Linked DNA regions of Homo sapiens: region 1 is linked to region 2. Evidence: promoter capture Hi-C in 16 types of primary human blood cells and fetal thymus (Javierre and others, 2016). All regions are on one chromosome and are shown on one strand. The core of a region is centred on a gene start or on the middle of the fragment in contact, and the rest is flanking DNA. Distances in the headings are between cores, read along the strand shown. Region 1 overlaps CEP85 (centrosomal protein 85). Region 2 holds the start of CRYBG2 (crystallin beta-gamma domain containing 2).

Evidence for each region. The method cuts DNA at HindIII sites, captures the fragments that hold promoters and counts their contacts. A CHiCAGO score of 5 or more calls a contact.
Region 1: a fragment that was not itself captured here is called in contact with the fragment with the promoter of CRYBG2 in region 2 in 1 of 17 cell types (M2 macrophages); the score reaches 6.3 in M2 macrophages.

The regions. Positions count from the first base shown.
Region 1 is chr1:26,236,529-26,242,587 of GRCh38, reverse strand. It overlaps CEP85 (centrosomal protein 85), which reads right to left. Exons shown (of 14, transcript NM_001319944.2): 2 at 2,750-2,826. The coding sequence starts at 2,804. Among named protein-coding and RNA genes, the nearest start is that of CEP85, 5.4 kb to the right of the region's middle. The HindIII fragment of the contact is 3,240 bases long and covers 1,382-4,621 here.
Region 2 is chr1:26,349,976-26,355,709 of GRCh38, reverse strand. It overlaps CRYBG2 (crystallin beta-gamma domain containing 2), which reads left to right and starts at 1,580. Exons shown (of 20, transcript NM_001039775.4): 1 at 1,580-1,674. RefSeq lists a silencer at 4,081-4,279 and an enhancer at 5,495-5,734. The HindIII fragment of the contact is 7,544 bases long and covers 1-4,337 here.

The DNA.
Region 1 (6,059 bases), core at 1,752-4,251, 110 kb after region 2:
TACTTTTGCTCATTTTTTGCTACCCTTACTTTGGCTTTCTACTGAAGGCAACCTGACTTTCCCCAAATACTTCTTCTATTCTTTGGATCACAGTGACTGCCTGATTTGAAAGAATCTTTATACACTCAGTAATCTGTAATTGTTATAGAAGACACAGGCAACAATCCGAGTTTCTGAGCGGCATGAGATTAGCCAATGCTACTATACTAAGTTGGTGTAATTCTAGCCCAAAGCAAAGAAATCCCACCTTCTGGTGAGTCTACACAGCTTTTTCTCTCTAGTCAGTGTAAAATTTGCCAGGCCTTTTGAAACAGTTAAGATTGAGGGCCTCTATTACCATCTTCCTGACTTCCTACTGGAAACCGCTTCCCTGTTACTACTACTAATCTTCCACTCTTCATCGCTACCATTTTTCCATCCACCTACTCCATACCCTAATTCCAAAGAGTTATTTGTTAAAAATATATTTTGGTATATTTATAGAGGTTTACACTTATTTCAAAATTGAAGTTTAAATGCTGAAGTTGGCCGGGTGCAGTGGCTCATGCCTGTAATCCTAGCACTTTGGGAGGCGGGGGTGGGCAGATTACCTGAGCTCAGGAGTTGGAGACCAGCCTGGGCATATGGCGAAACCCGTCTCTACTAAAAATACAAAAAAATTAGCCAGGTGTGGTGGTGCATGCCTGTAATCCCAGCTACTTGGGAGGCTGAGGCACAAGAATCACTTAAACCCAGGAGACAGAAGTTGCAGTGAGCTGAGATTGTGCCACTGCACTCCAGCCTGGGCCACAGAACAAGACTCCGTCTCCAAAAAAAAAAAAGAAAAGCTGAAATTTTTTGTGTTATAGTGCATGTCCTATCAGTAGCATCCTTATCAATTATTAAGACCATTATTAATCTGAATGAGATACTATTGAAGAGAGAAAAAAGCCATAGGAAAGGCATTGTTCCAAAAACTTGCATTATATACATAATTGTCATAGAAACTGTACAAACCTAAGAGAATGTGCAGCACATAGCAGATGTTTAAAAAATATTTCCTGAGGCCGGGTGCAGTGGCTCACGCCTGTAATCCCAGCACTTTGCGAGGCCCAGGCGGGCAGATCACAAGGTCAGGAGATTGAGACCATCCTGGCTAACATGGTGAAACCCCGTCTCTATTAAAAAATGCAAAAAAATTAGCTGGGCATGGTGGCGGGCACCTGTAGTCCCAGCTACTTGGGAGGCTGAGGCAGGAGAATGGCATGAACCCGGGAAGCGGAGCTTGTAGTGAGCCGAGATCACGCCACTGCACTCTAGCCTGGGTGACAGAGCGAGACTCCATTTCAAAAAAAAAAAAAAAATTCTGCTGAATGAATCTTGAATTGATTCAACCAAAGCTTATAATGGTGCCTACTCTATGCAAGGCAGCATGCCTAAGAGAATACACCAAACATTTACCAAATATCTACGCTGAGTAAGGCACTGTGAGATTTTAAAGTTAAATAAAACATACCCTGAGTTGAATTAAACGTGCCCTCTTCTTTACCAATACCCCAGAATTCAACAAGTCATTTTTCTAAAATATTACTTATTTGAAATATATATTATCTACTTAATATGCCTGCACAGTGCATACATATATTTATGTGTTTAATATACAGTCAGCTCTCCATATCCATGGTTTCTTTTTTTTCCCCTTTTTTTTTTTGAGACACAGTCTCACTCTGTTGCCCAGGCTGGAGTGCAGTGGCGTCATCTCAGCTCACCTCAACCTCTGCTTCCCGTGTTCAAGTGATTCTCCTGCCTCAGCCTCCCAAGTAGCTGGGATTATTATAGGCACATGCCACTGCACCCGGCTAATTTTTGTATTTTTAGTAGACATGGAGTTTTACCATGTTGGCCAGGCTGGTCTCAAACTCCTGACCTCAGGTGATCCACCCGCCTTGGGCTCCCAAAGTGCTGGGATTACAGGCATGAGCCACAGCGCCTGGCCATATCCGTGGTTTCTACGTTTGTGAATTCAACCAATTTTTTTTTTTAATGGTATCTTACTGAATGTGCATAAGACTTGTTTTTCTTCTTATTCCCCAAACAATACAGTATAACTATTTACATAGCATTTACATTGCATTGGGTATTACAAGTAATCTAGAGACGATTTAAGGTAAACATTAGGATATACACAGGTTATATGCAAATACCACACCATTTTATATCAGGGACTTGAGTATCTGTGGATTTTGCTATCTGCAGGAGGTCTTGGAACCAGTCCGCCATGGACACTTAAGGACTGTATATATTTAATATATCTACTGAAGTTTCAAAATCTTGTTAATCCATTCTGAAGATAAATTCCTGAGTTTCTAGTAACAATGCAACGGAATCTGTTGGCATCCAAGCAGAATTCCTATTTTTGTGGGCTAGCAGATGACTGACCCACCCAGAGGACAAAGACAACATAGAACACAGTAATTTATGCTGTGTTTTTCTGATTTCAAATGGAACTATGTTCCAAAGTCATTCTGTTCCAATCCTTTATATGTCGTCCTCTCCCAACCACGTGGTCCTGTTGAAAGCCACATAGCACAAGAGATAAATACTTGTTCCCTCAGAGACCTGTTTTTATATTCAATGAAGCCCCATGTTATTTTTATTCTTTTAGCACCAGCATTTCAGTGAATGCTTGTTTGTTCAATATTTACCTTAAGGAATATGAAAAAACAGAACAAAGGTCAGAATTTAACCCAGAAAACTTCTGACTACTCACTCGGTGAAGTGACGTGAGAGATCCCCTCAGTTGGATATTTCTCCTGCATGGCCATCAATCACAGTTATTTAAGCCAACTGTAGAATGAAGGAATAACCAGTCAGTTCTCTGAAGTATCTTTAATTCCCCGCAACTCAGTTCCCATTCAACTGAAACTGTCAAAACCATATAGAATATTCAAGTATTTGGCCAGGCACAGTGGCTCACACCTGTAATCCCAGCACTTTGGGAGGCCAAGGCGGGCAGATCAACTGAGGTCAGGAGTTCGAGACCAGCCTGACCAACATGGGGAAACCCCATTTCTACTAAAAACACAAAAATTGGCCGGGCATGGTGGCACACATCTGTAGTCCCAGCTACTTGGGAGGCTGAGGCACAAGGATTGCTTGAACCCGGGAGGCAGAGGTTTCAGTGAGCCAAGATCACACCACTGCACTCCAGCCTGGGCAACTGAGCAAGACTCCATCTCAAAAAAAATAAAAAAGAATATTCCAGTATTCTAAATGTTATATTCCTAAGGATATTTAGGAGTAAATATGTTTTTACATGTTTTACTTCTAAGGATATTTTTAAGACAAAGTAAATCCCAATACTCCACTCTACTTCTCTTCCCAAATCCAGTATAGAAAACCTAGAACCAGAGATTACCAATACAGATTCCATACGGTCCTAGAACCCTTCTGATTTTTATAAAATTTAAAAATATTACTTTTAATTAACAAACTTTACCATGAATCTTCTTAGCCATGGGGACCTGATGACAGGACGAGGTGGATAAAGAACTAAAGAACTAAACCAACAGTGAAGTATTACAGCATCAATTATGATTAACACAAAACAAATTCCTCAATTCTTCCAGTAATTAAAGTCAGTCATACGATGTAAAAAGATGGGAAAGAATTCTTGCTCATAAGTAGAACTCCAATCCTGAGCTAGGAACGTGAAGTTCTCGTCCCATGTTCTCACTCCTTAAAATATTTATATTTACAGTACACTAGGGGTAGGTGCTGAGAATTCAGCAGAAGTGGATTTGAAGTCTAAACAAATACACTTGAACCCACTAAACATTAAGTTATCAATTTATTAGCTGTGTAACCTTGGGCAAATTTCTTAGTATCTCTGTTCCTCATTTTCTTCATATAAAAATGAGGATAACAACACAACCTAATTCATGTTAATTCACTTATAATTAACTTACAACAGTTCCTGACACATACTAAGTGCTGTTATTACTTGGCAATTTACATCAACAAAAGTAGCACTGTACAGCCCATGGAAGATCAAGGAGTATCAACTCAGAAACTCTAAATTTATAAAAGCCCCAAAAGAGTTTGGGACAATTCGGCCGGGCTCAGTGGCTCACGCCTGTAATCCCAGCACTTTGGGAGGCCGAGGCAGGCGGATCACCTGAGGTCAGGAGTTCGAGACCAGCCAACATGGTGAAACCCCGTCTCTACTAAAAATACAAAAATTAGCCAGGCATGGTGGCAGGCGCCTGTAATCCCAGCTACTTGGGAGGCTGAGGCAGGAGAATCGCTTGGACCATGGAGGCGGAGGCTGCAGTGAGCCAAGATCGCGCCATTGCACTCCAGCCTGGGCGACAGAGCAAGACTCCGTCTCAAAAAAAAAAAAAAAAGAGTTTGGGACAATTCACAGAACATAATTCTATCACTCTGGAGAAAAAAGACTATATGGTACTATTTCTCTAATGTACTTTAGTGACCTCTATAGTATTCTCTTGTTACTAAGAGAATACTATAGAGGTCACTAAAGTACATAACAACCCAAACCCTTATTAATTCACTGCATCTACAATAGAAAGGGTATCATCCTCCACAATTCCAGTTCTTCACATACTGGGTGAGGGAAGCTTTGTTCAGTAATAAAAGCTTTAGTTTATGGCAAGTATGATTCAGTGAGTTAAATGATGACATAGAATGATTAGATTACCTCCTTACTAGTGATTTCCTTTCTTGTCAATATCAAAATCCTTTTCTTCACTCCTTTCTTTAAAGGATAACAAAATGGTAGGCGCACTGGATTCTAAGGTGTTTCTAAATTCAGACAAGTTGAAAATACGGTGACAGAAGGAGAACTCCGAGTTACCCTATGACTCAGCAATTCCACACTGAAGTATACACCCAAGAGAAATGAAAACACAGGTTTACACAAAAGCTTCAATAAGAATGTTCGTAGCAGCATTATTTACAATAGCCAAAAAGTGGAAACAACACAAACGTCCATGAGCTAATGAATGGATACATAAAATGTGGTATATCCAAAAAACAGAGTATTATTCAGCAATAAAAGGAAGTACTGATACATGTGACAACATGGATGAACACTGAAGACATGCAAAGTCAAAGAAGCCAAACAAAAGGCTTGATCCTATTTATATGAAATGTCAGAATAGGCAAATCCATAGAGACACAGATTAGTGATTGCAAAGGACTGAGAGGAGGGAGGGTAGGAGAATAGGAAGGGACTGCTAATGGATACCGGGTTTCTTTTCAGGGTGATCAAAATGTTCTGAGATTAGATAGTGGTGACTGACTGCACAACCTTGCCAATATATTAAAAACCTCTGAATTGCACACACATAAAATTAAATTTTATGTTATGTGATATAAGCCAAAAAAAAAATTCTAAGACATCCCCAACCACCTGAATGGATCCCTCCCCTTGGCCAATGGCATTCCAAAGTTAAGCTGAAAAACCTGTTAAGGCCATGATGGTGGTAGTGGTGGTGGAGTCCTACACCCCTCATTATACCCTCCTCCCTTCTGGAATTTAGGAAAAGCATTAACATTAACACAGATGTCTGTAAGAAACATTTATAATCTATTCTCTCTAAAGCCTACTATTTGGAGGCTTCATCTGTACAATAAAATGTTGATCCCCAGGATACCTTAACCCAGACATTCCTTTCTATTGATAACAACTTTCAACCAACTGCCAATCAGAAAATTTTGAAATCTACCTATGACCTGGAAGCCCCCACCCACTAAGAGTTGTCTTACCCTTCCAGATCAATGTAAATCTTACATGTATTTGACTGATGTCTCATGTCTACCTAAAATGTTTAAAACCAGGGCACACGTTATCAGGATCACCTGAGGGCTGTGTCAGGGGCCACTGGTCACCCATATTTGGCTCAGAATAAATCCCTTCAAATATTTCAGAGTCTGACCCTCATTGACAACAAATATCTCAAAAAAGAAAAACAGAAAGAAAGAAACCCCGTAAGGAGTAAAACAATACAAAATAAATCATTCTTGACTTAAGAATTAGATGAGCTACTGGTGGAAAT
Region 2 (5,734 bases), core at 331-2,830:
GGAAGCAGCAGGGCGGAGATTCAAGCCCAGGTTGCCTCGATCCAAGCCTCCAGGTTCATCACTGTACTCTTGTCTCTTGAGGTGGTCAGCCCCTGGGGAATGAGAGGCTGCATCTGTTTCATAGATGAGTAAATTAAGGCATTTGGCAGCAAGGATCCCTGCTAGGCGGAATTTTGACCTCCTCTGTTGCCAAGGAAACAGCCCATCTTTTAAAACGGGTCGTTTTGGGGGCAGTGTCCATCTGGGTCTGGGGTGCTGAGCCCTCTCCTCTTATCCCCACAGCCAGGCTGGACCCCAGGGGAAGACAGCAGAAGAGGTCAGGTGTTGTCCCATTTCAGGGGAACCCTCTTCTCTGGCTCCCTTATATCCCAGGTACATCCTCCCAGGTGTTCTGTCTCAAGCTGGGAGGGTACAAGAGAGGTGGCCGCAGTCTCTCTGTTAGCTTGGAATGGGCAGAGGCCATGGGCACTTGAGGCAGGCCTTCCCACCCAGCCCTCAGCCCCAGGGCGGGGAAGCACCTCAGGACTGCAAGGAAGCTGAGATCTCCAGCCTTTGGGGGGCATGGCCGGCCAGGCCCTGGGTGCCTTGTCACCTGGGAGGGAGTGCGGCACCTGAGCGTTGGGAGCCCTCGCTGGCTTGCTGTGTGATCTCAGTCATGTCGCCGTCTTCTTTGGGCCCCACTTTCCTCTTACGTAGAATGGGAAGGGGTGAGTTAAATGCTGAAGGGCCTTCCCAGAGCTCTGTCCCTTTGTCCAGCTCTGGTGGCCTTAGCAGCCTCTCCCTAGGGCAGCTTACCTTGGTGTCAGAGCCCTGTTCAGCTTCCTTGTGACAGGGAAGATACCAGGTACCAGGGGTGCCTGGAGGGCAGGGGGAGCTGTCACTATGCCCCTGCCTCTCTCAGTGTCTATCTCTGTTTTCACCCAGGCCCAAGGCCAGAGCTGCTCAGAATGGGACATCCATGTAGGGGACCATGATGATTTCTGGATTTGGAAGCAACAAGGAATCTCGGGGGGTCCTGCTCAGTCCCTGGGGCGCCTACAGAGGCCAGCGGTGGGCAGCGCCTTCGACCTGGCCAGCCATGCCTCCCTGGGGCCTGAGAGCCTGGCCCTGGAAGTGGCCTCAGGAGAGTCTGCTCGTACCAGGCTCCCCCAATACCCAGGGCCTGCTCCTGGACATGGGGAGCAGGGATCCTCAGGCTGCACCTGTCAGCAGTCTCCACCCACAGCTTCAGAGGTCCCTCTGAGGCCTGAGCCACCCAGCAACCTGGAAGACGCACCCCTGCTGCTCCACCCTGCATCCTTCCCCAGGGCAGAGGGGACAAAGGGCAAGCCCGCCACCCCAGGGACTGCCTTGCCAGAGCCTGCCCAGACCCTACACACGCGTCCCTCTTCCAGGAGGACCCGCTACTACATCACTGTCACCCTGCTGGGGCACAGGCAAGCACCAGGGGAGGAGGGTGAAGAACCGGCCCAACCAGCTCCACACCTCTGCGGCCCTGAGGAATCTGAGGGCTGGTGGGAGCCTCCCCAGGGGCCACGCCCCATCACAGGGTGCCGGACGGCCCCGCCTCAGGAACCCCAGCTGAGAGCCCAATCGCATCAGGGGAGCACGGCCCAGCAGCAGGAGCTCCAGGCTGGCTGGACACCTGGGTCCCCACGCAGACTGTGAGTAGAGGTCGGTCTGTGTGTGGAGATGGGAGGGGAGACTGGCCTGGCTGCCCTGTCTTGAGACTTTGCCTATTCCCTGGGCCTCTCCAGCTCTAGGCCCATTCATTCAGGACCCTGAGCCGACTCTGCCTTCCCTCCCTGCTCCAACCCTGCCTTCCTCTCCCTCCCTTTGCCCACAGGCTACCTCCTGGAACCCACTGCTTCTCACCCCCACTGTCCATCTGAGAAAGGGGAAAGTCTGTCAGGGAGAGGATGGGCAGGAAGGGGGGTTGCCTTCTTCACAGCATACACCACTCCCCAGTTCTGTTCAGGAGGCCACAGACTCAGCCTGGGAATTGGCACCCAGCCTAGGTGCTGGGTGTCCTGAGGCGAGTTGCTTAACCTCTCTGGGCCTTGAGTTGTTGAGAGGATTTGGTAGCTGAAAATGAGGAAGGAGGAGGTGGCTACAGGAATATACTTTGAACTCCAGAGACTGGGGGTGCCAAAATAGCAGGGATGCTTATTAATTACGTCTCAGTGACAGCAATAATTACCCCACCTGGCTCTGAGCTGGAAGCCAAAGGAGTGGGTGTCGAGTTTCCCAAGCCTAGTTTTATTTGTGTTGAAATGACTCTCCTAAATCTGCCTGGGGGGCGCAGAGGTGGAAGGATATGTCCCCCAAAGCTCATCAAGGAGGGATGAACATGGAACCTCCCAGGGATGACCCTGAAGAGGAAATGAGCCTGGGGTGGGGTTTTGAAGGGTGCTTAAGGATGATGGGGTGGCTGTCATTTGCAATTTGTTTTCTAAGCATAATTTTATTTAATCTTCCCAACCATCCCATGAGTAGGGACTGATCCCAACCCCTGTCACCTAATTCTAGGAGGCTCTGAAAGTCACTTGCTCAAAGTCAACTAGAAAGTGAAGGGGCTAGAATCTGAACTTAGGTTTCTATAACTCCAGTGCCTGTGCTCTAACCACTGCTCCATCCTGCCTGGAAGAAACCTCTTTGGCCCTGTGCAGAGAGTGGAGGGTTGAGTGAGGTTGCTGTGTGGGCTCCAGGGTTTTCTAGGCTCCTATGGCGGTGGATTGGGCAGCATTGTAGTAGCAGAGGCAGAATCAGGAATGCTGGGGTCCTCCAAGCAGGGGTCAATGTGACTGCTTCCGTGCCAAGGAAGAGGGAGATGTAGGACCCAGGCTGGCTCTGAGACCTGCTTGGATGCCCCAGAAGTCAGGGGCTGGGGGACAAGGGCTGCAGAGAGAGGGAAGGGGGGTGGAGGAGGCTACCTTGGAGAGGGGGACGGGAAAGAGAAGTAGGGTTAGCTGGGGGGAGGTGGTTTCTATCTGCCACTACCTGGGTATTTTGGGCCCAGGTGGATAATGACAGACTCAGGTGGGAGGCTAGGGCTCACTTAGAGTGGGGGGCAGGTGACCTCCAGAAACATCATCCTTCTATGTCCCCTTCCTGGGAGAAGGTTCTCTGGGCCAAGATTGGCAAATATGGGAGTCGAGAAGAAGTGAGACATAGCTGGGACTGCCAGTGGGAATGTGTAAGATACGTGTGCATCCAAGCGTGTGTGTCCACGTTCAGGGGTAGGTGAATTTCAAGGGGAAGAGAGCTTGGGGCTGTGAATTGACTGTGTGTGTATTGTGAATGTGTGCACGTGTGTGTCACTGTGCCTGTGTTTCTGTCTGTATGTGATTTGTGTGTCTGTTGTGGCTCTGAGTGCCTGTGCGTGTTTGTATTTCTTGGGTGAGTGTATATTTGTGTGTGTGTCCCTGGTTGTGTATGTTTTTATAGGCTTCTAGGTGTATCTTTGTGCCTGTGTGATTGTGGGTCTGTGTCGGTATCTGTCTGTGTGTCTGTGCCTGCGTCTGTGTGACACAGCATGTGTTTGCCTGCATGTGGGCCTGTGGACTGGTTTGGCCTAGTTTGGGGGTGACTCACAGGTAAGTGGGGAGAATCCAGGACTTGTTGGGTTAGACAAGGCTCTTTCCCACACTCCCCCCGCCCCCTCCTCAGCCTCTCCCTTCCCAGCTCCACACGCCTTGTTTGGAGGTCACAGGTCACGCTGCCAACAAATCCACTTCTGGTCTGGGGCCCTGCAGAAGAAAGGGCTCTGGGAATGGCCCCTTCTGCTGGCCCAGGAGAGGCATCCTGGGTCATTGTATTGGGGTATGTCTTCAGAGCAAGGACAAAAGGGGGCATCTATAGGCAGGCACATTCCAGCAGAGTCTGAAGGACATTCTAGCACTCATGACTGTTCAGGGACGGGGCAGGTGAACTGTCGAGTGGTGACCTCCCTGTCCCTGGAGGTATGCAGGCAGAAGCCAATGACCACATGCTTGTGGAATGACTGGCTATCAGGGGTGTTGTCCAGGGGTTGGGCTGGTTGAGAAAGACGTTAAATTCTGATTGGTAGGAGGTCATCGACAATATCTGATCTCATGATCGGCCGCCTCCTTTAACATTGCTCTCCTGTCGCTTTCCTGATGCCTATGGCGCTTTCCAAATGTCCCTGTTTTTATGTCTAATTCCTTGGCCCCTGGCTTCTTAATATGCCACCTTTCATGAGAAAGTTGGCTCTGGTTCTGGTTGAGTCTAGCCAAGGCCTAGCACATCCCTTGATACAATTAGCACTGAATGAGTGAGTAATTGAATGAATGAATGAATGAGTTAGAGCTCAAGCTTTGCCACTTACTATAAGCACCATCAGAGACAAGGAAGCTCGGAGAGTGGAAGGCAGGTGGACAGGGGCTTAGGAGGTGCTCAGCGAGGGCGTCAAACTTCATTTGGGCAGAGTCCCAGCGAGGAGGGCAGGGGTTGCATGAGGAAAAAGGGAGCTCCCTAATGGGGACAGGGGAGTGGGCTGGGGCCTCAGTGAGAGGCTAAAATCCAGAGCCTTTGGTGTCTGGCTGTGTACTGCTCTCAGGAAGCCCTGGCCTGGGAAAATGACCAGGGCTCTACCTAACCCCTCCACCTTCCAGTCCCCCTTGGACCCTGTCCCTGACACTGTCATAGCCACCAGCAGTCCTGGAGTCAGGTCAGGCTTCCCGGGGCTTCAGTCTCTTTCATCTCTGCCCCTCATAAAGCCTGAGTCACTGCTGTGGCCACAGGGAAGGGTCAAAGTTCTGAATTCCACCAGCTTCTCAGGAAGGAGGACAATGGGAAATGGGGGAGGGGAGTGGGGGCAGTGGGTCCATTTCCTGCCCAGAGTCAGGTCTCTTGGGGAGGGGAGGGTACCTCATGGAGAAGGCCCAAAGACTCGGGCTGAACAGGCTGGCCTCTCTGGGGTTCGTGGGGCCTAAGAATAGGATTGCCCTGGTCAGTGTAGCTTGGAAGTCAGGGAGTGGGGGTGGAGACGCCCTCCAGGACTGACATGGCTCCCTGTAAATGTAAACCCCCAAACCAGAGACTCAGTTATAGGATACATATATTAGGGAGTTTGGTATGGTGAGTGAGCACTTAGGGTTGGGGTTCAAGTCTTGTTTCGGTTACTCTGTGACTTTGGACAAGTTTCTTAACCTCTCTGAGCATTTAAAAAATCTCATCTGCAAAATGGGAAGGTATGATCTAATTTATTAATAATTTATTCTTTATGAGGTCTCAAGCTCCTGGGATTCTTCTGAGGCTTCAATGGGACAATGAATCTAAAGCACTTAGCAAGGTGTTTGGCAGAGTCAGCCCTCCCCAAATGGCTGTTTTTGTTGTTGTTGCAACTAGTAAAACAGAGAAATTCACCTGAGAGTTCCTAGGGAGCTTAGTCTATTTTCTGTTGCTTATAATGGAATACCTGAACCTGGAAGCCCAAGGTCAAGGGGGTGCATCTGGTAAGAACCTTGTTGGTGATTCTCTGCAGAGTCCCGAGGGGGCTCAGAGCATCACATGGCAGTGGGGCTGAGGTGCTAGTTCAGGTGTCCCTTCCTCTTCCTATAAAACCACTGGTCCGGTCAGGCACAATGGCTCACACCTGTAATCCCAGCACTGTGGGAGGCGGAGGTGGGCAGATCTCTTAGGCTCAGGAGTTTGAGACCAGACTGGGCAACATAGTGAAACCCCAACTCTACAAAAAATACAAAAATTAGCC